Linked DNA regions of Homo sapiens: region 1 is linked to region 2. The links are contacts of gene promoters, found by promoter capture Hi-C in blood cells and fetal thymus (Javierre and others, 2016). All regions are on one chromosome and are shown on one strand. Each heading gives the region's core, a stretch centred on a gene start or on the middle of the fragment in contact. The rest is flanking DNA. Distances are from core to core; before and after follow the strand shown.

What was found. Contacts are between HindIII fragments. The CHiCAGO score rates a contact against its expected background, and 5 or more counts as called.
Region 1: a fragment that was not itself captured here is called in contact with the fragment with the promoter of NRCAM in region 2 in 1 of 17 cell types (endothelial precursors); the score reaches 5.6 in endothelial precursors.

Annotation. Positions count from the first base shown.
Region 1 is chr7:108,237,001-108,239,700 of GRCh38, reverse strand. It overlaps NRCAM (neuronal cell adhesion molecule), which reads left to right. Exons shown (of 33, transcript NM_001037132.4): 5 at 1,932-1,949. Among named protein-coding and RNA genes, the nearest start is that of LAMB4, 110 kb to the right of the region's middle. The HindIII fragment of the contact is 1,517 bases long and covers 686-2,202 here.
Region 2 is chr7:108,455,034-108,457,890 of GRCh38, reverse strand. NRCAM (neuronal cell adhesion molecule) reads left to right here and starts at 1,455. Exons shown (of 33, transcript NM_001037132.4): 1 at 1,455-1,648. The HindIII fragment of the contact is 7,436 bases long and covers 1-2,857 here.

The DNA of each region.
Region 1 (2,700 bases), core at 195-2,694, 220 kb after region 2:
GGGATGGCCTGAGAAGGATTGAGTTGTGCAAGCTGCCTGATCTTCCCAACAGGCGGCTCTTTAGAGAAGCAGTCCTGCAAGAAAACTATATGAGCCACTTTAAAATGATCATGGAGACCTCCCCACTCATCCCTTCACCACTTTACTCTTTCCCGTCATATGCTGAGGGTGGTCTGCAAAGATGAGGGGAGGCTCCTTCTGCCAACTCCATGCCCCTCGGAATCCCTAAACCACCCCAGAATTCATTTCTCTTGATTCAGACAAGGCGCATCTCACTTTCCAATTTTGAATCCTAAATATAAGTCTAGAACTAGGAAAAGTATCTTATCTAGAGCCTAACAAATAGTCTTATTTGGTTTAAACAGTGTGGTCAAATGCCAAAATGCAACTGCTAAAAATACAAGTAATATGCAAAGCACTAAAATGGAGCAAACAACAGCTACTGTATTAGCCCTCCATTTTCCTAGTAGTAAATATATACTGTGCTCTCCCTGCTCTGGGTGGCCTGTTTGTGAAAAATAAAGATAATGCTAGGTTCCACCCAGTCACTTTTCCTGCAAATGGAAAGCAAAATTTCAAATCTGGACAATTACTGTACTTCAGAATCGATTTCTCCTTTATCCCTCATCTGCATGACCTCTTTGAAGCCATTAGCTTCCTGAATAGAATATCTGTTTGGCAAGCTTTCCAAGGTGCAAGGAAGATAGCACTTTCCTGGGGCTATTCAATTGTTGGGATGTCATTTTTATTTATTTATTATTATTATTATTATTTATTATTACCATAGAGGTTGCAACTGCCAGTGGGAAGACATTAAGAAGAGATGTGGTTTGTCCCACACTTTGTTGACTTTTTGCTGTGCTTCTATAAAGTTCAATAAAATGCAGTGCTTTTCTTATTTAAAAAAAATTCATCCAGTGACCTTAATTTCAATTTTCAAAAAAATATACAATTGCTTAAGCCCATTGGAGTGGGAATGCCTAAGTAAGCATTTGCCCTGACAGATACACAGGAGGGAAAGAAAACATTTGAGAGAAATGCTTTTGTTCTCTCTTATATTAAATATATTCCCCCTTAATCTGACTGTTCAATCTGTCAAGCAGAGGGAAACAGTCACCTATGGCTAACTCAATTATCACTGCTAACGGAGAAGAGGCATAACCATGATGAAAAGAAAGTCACAGAAAAACCCAGGTGCTCCTATATTAACCTTTGCAAGTAGTAACGACAGACAGCACTGTGGAATGATTTGAATTGCATGCTAATGTAATTTCTTCCCTGCCCCTATTTCTTACATCGTTTCTCTACTACATGAACAAGTCCTTGGTGTGGGCACCAGCAACCCCTGAGTGATTGAGAAATTATGAAGCAGAAATCTGCTAACAGTCTAAAAAGTTCAATTAATGACTTTGGAGATTAACCATAGAAATATAAAAATCTAAAATTAGTGTTGGACTTGGCTTGCATGGAGCATTATCACTGTAGCAATGTCCCATTGTTAGGTATTATTACCATATGCACAGTGATGTCTGGGATAATATGACCAGACACTACACAGTATGTGACAACTCAAATTAATTGTAGATTTCAGCTGTTTTTCAAATTGAACATAATTACTTGTCCAACACAACATATATGGAATGGAATTCGCTATTCCTATTCCTGGAAGAACTCGTTTGCCTACAGCATTGCTTTTGTTCTTCCATATGTTTATGTGGGAAAGCTGCTGCAAGATTAAAGGAAACCGTTAATGCAAATTTCTTCGTCTTGCAACTTCACAAATTCAACCTTCACTATACAGGTTTTCTTAGATCAAATCAAATAGACAAGATGCCCCCTTTATCTTCAGAGTTCTAACGTTCTTATTATTAACATCTGATTTTCTTTAATCCTCTTTGCCCACTTACCTGCTGATATTGATGGGGAAAAAGCAAAACTTCTTGAAGACTGTAAGTGTCCTTCTATAAATTACTAGGCAGTGTGAAAATGTGACCATGTCTTTGCTTTTTGAATTAATATTGTGATTTAAATGCACAATTTCATGTTTTGTGACCTTTGTCTTTCTAAGCATGTGTGTTTACTGTAGCTAAACATTGTATTTCAATACCAAGAAGCAGTTGTAAAGTATTATCTGCATGAATTCTGAAAACTTGGCTATTACTCTTTCTTTTACCAGTGTGCTGCTCTACTAACTTCCAAGCTTTATTCACATCTGATGTAACTCAATGAGAAAATTCTCAAAATTTAGAGAGAATGCTGATCTGTTGTAAAGGCTAATTAATGCTTTCTGGAACAAAGATAGGTCTTTTTGTGTCTTTTAGAAGGTGGGTGCAGGCAAAAGCTTTACACAAGATGGCAGCTGTATGTCCTTTTATGCTTCTTCAGCCTTCGTGACTATGTAGACTAGTATTTCTAGGTGCCATCAGTAGACTAACCCAGCGAATTTGAATCTTGTCTTGAAGTGGACAAAAGATAAGCAGCTCCCACTCACATGGTATTTGAATGGCTTGCTCTGAGCAAAACTTTCCACTGCCTTTGACAGGTGGCATTTATCACCTAGTTTAAAAATAGTCAGTTTTCAGGCATTTGATAATTTCCTTTGATGTTAGATTAACCAGGAAAATTATGTAAAATCACTGTTTTTCTTACTACTGAAAAGCATTTGTTAATTAGCAGGTGACCCAAGCACTGTTTAAGGAG
Region 2 (2,857 bases), core at 206-2,705:
TCATGGAATCTTTTTTTTTGCGGGGGGGAAGGTATTTTAGAGGAAAATTTGGACAATTAGTTGAGAGGTGCAAGGTACCACCTGAATGGCAGTTGGGTAAGGACTAGAGTCAGAAGAACCACTGATGGGACTGTGGAAACAACTTGTGCAATGACCCAGCAGCCAGATATCATGCTGGTTCAGGAACCGAGGGAGGCTCTGTGAGGCCAGAGCACATTTGGCTGGAGAAGGAGGAGAGGATGGCAGTAGAAGGAGAAGGAAAAGAAGGCTGCTCACTTGCATGCAGATGCTGTGAGCTGACGGGGCAAGTTCAAATTGAAGTTAGAACAGACCACTGGGGTAGTCAAGACCTTGAAGGATGAACCTGTTTCTTTTTCATTCCTGAATCTTGCCCCAGCACCTTGGAGGCTGGGGGTGGAGGAGGTGGTGAGGTGGGGTGGGGTGGTGAGGAGCTCAGAAAATGTTTTCCTGAATTAGAGAACTGAAGGAATCAAGGCTCCGCTGAGCTCACTAAGCGCTGGAGCCTGCTGTAAGTGGTCAAGTCGGGTGATACCCAGCAGACAAGTAATTTGTGTGCAGACCGGAGTAGATTACGGAGGACCCAAGGGTCAGGCTAAGGATCCTGAACACCATCCACGATAGAGTGGAGACGTGCGCTTCGGAGCCTGAACTATGCAGCAAGCAGTGTGTTTACTCAAATACTATACAGTTGGAAAATCTTAATTCTCGATTTACATTGCCAAAAAAAAAAAAAAAAAATCTCCATAATACTCCCCCATTTGTAAATAAGCAAATCCGAACTAACCCTATTCCTTGGGACCAGAAGACCCAGTTTCTACCGCGGATAGATAGCATCCGCCTTATGCTAAAAGCTCTTTTTTCTGCGGTGGTGGGGGGCGGCGGGGAGTGTTTGGAAAGAACGGTTGCAAAAACAAAACAAAACCCCCAAAACCACTCACCCAATCTCAACCACCCCAACTGATGAATTTCGAAGAAAGTGCTTTTTAAAAAAGAAAAAACTAGAAGACCACAGACCTCCCACAGAAAGCTAAACCCATGAGAGTGGCATTCAAAAACTACCCATTTTCTGGAACATCTTTTGTAGCTAAATCCCAGCCATCCTAGCCCCGGAACACTCCCGCCCTCCGTCCCCGCACCCCCACCCCCGCCGCCACACGCGCTCGCAGGCTGACGGAGGTTGGCGGTGGGGCGGCCGCTCAGGTGAGGGGCCACCCAGTCCCTCGAGGCGCCGGCGGCTGGAGCCCATTCGCTGCCGTCGCAGCAGCAGGGCAAGAGGGGGTTGGCCAGGAGGGGAGGAGGCGGAGGACGCCCGCAGGGAGTGCGGGGGAGGGGGACGGGAGGACGCTAAGGAGAGCCGGGAGGGGCAAAAGCACGGCGCGGGGAGGGGGAGCGGAGAGGGCGGGAGCGGCGGGGGCGCGCGCCGGCGCGGGGCCAGCCTCGCTTCGCCAGGGTCGCTGGCGGACGCGCGCCGCAGTCCGAGCCTCAGACGCGCGGGCGCGGGGGACGGCGCAGGGGCCGCCTGGCTGGAGCAGCCAGAGGGGATAGCTTCGTCGAGAACGGAGGACACCGGCGGTCCAGGGTCCTGGGCAGTCGCGCCAGAGCTGAGCGGAGGGCGCGGCGCGAGAACGTAAGTAGCTCCTTGCGCGTCTGGCGGTGACACTGGGTCCTGCTCGGGGGTGACGGCTGGAGCGGAGGAGGACGCGCGAGGCTGCTGCGTTGTCACTTGGACACCGCCGCGGGGTTCAGCCGAGCGCTCACCGGGCTGGCAGCGCTGCAGGAGGGGCAAAGCAGATCTCCAACTCCCTTCTCCCCTGCAGGCCCCCGACACTCCCGCGGGCGCCGAGAGGGAGCAGGGGGACCTGCGCTTGGGTGAAGGCACAGCTGAAATCCAGCAGCGCCGGCACCCACCACCCCCTCCAGCCTGTGGCCAACTTCTGCTCCGCGCCCGCACCCCACGCTTTCCGGGAAGCCCTGCCCAGAGCTCTTGCTCGTGGGCAGTTGGGCATGGAGAGCCTGCGGGCCCGGCACGGCGGCTTCCCGGGCTTGGACACGGAGGCGCGGGGCGTCACGCCACAGTGCCGGCGGGGCGAGGAGCGCGGGGGCCGGGCCGGGAGCGCACGGGCGTGTGCCTGTTCGGGCCCCTGCGGACACGTCTGGGCGTGGGCTTTGTTCGGAAGTGCGTACACCTGTGCTGACCACGGAGTTCGGGGGCGAGGCCGACTTCGCTTCTCCAGTCGCTGCCTGGAGAGGGCTCGGGGAATCGAGGCGGAACGAGAGAGACACGGAGGACAGAGGGGTGGGGCGCTTGCGGGGGCTTTGTCGGCCTTACAGGTGCGGGTCCCGGGAGTCCCTGCGCCCCGCCCTGCCTCCGAGGGCTGGGACTTGTCGGGGCCGGCGCACCGGGCTGGGGGCTGCCTGGAAAGATTGCTTTCCCAGCCCAGGCTCTTAGCGGTGGGATCTGGCATCCGCTCCGCCCGGGATGCTGTGTTGAGCCAGGAGTGATTACCCGCCCTGGAGCATCCATCTCGCAGCGAGCGCCATCTGCGCCGAGCGCCGCCCCCGGCCCCCTCCACGCCGCGCGGGTGGGCGCTGCCGCATCCTGGTCCCAGGCGGTTGGCCAGCTCAGCTACTCCCGGCCCGCATCTGCTAGAGTGCGGAGGGGGACGGGGTGTCGCAGTAGGGTGAGCAAGGGAGTCGTCATTTCTCCCAAAGCGGTGTCCTCAGGGCCGCAAGCGCTGCTGGAGGGCTCCCCGGGCCCCGGGGCTGGCGAACAGGCCGCTTCCTTCCCCGGATCGCCTCCCCTCCCGCCCGCGCCCGCGGCCACATCTTCGTCCCC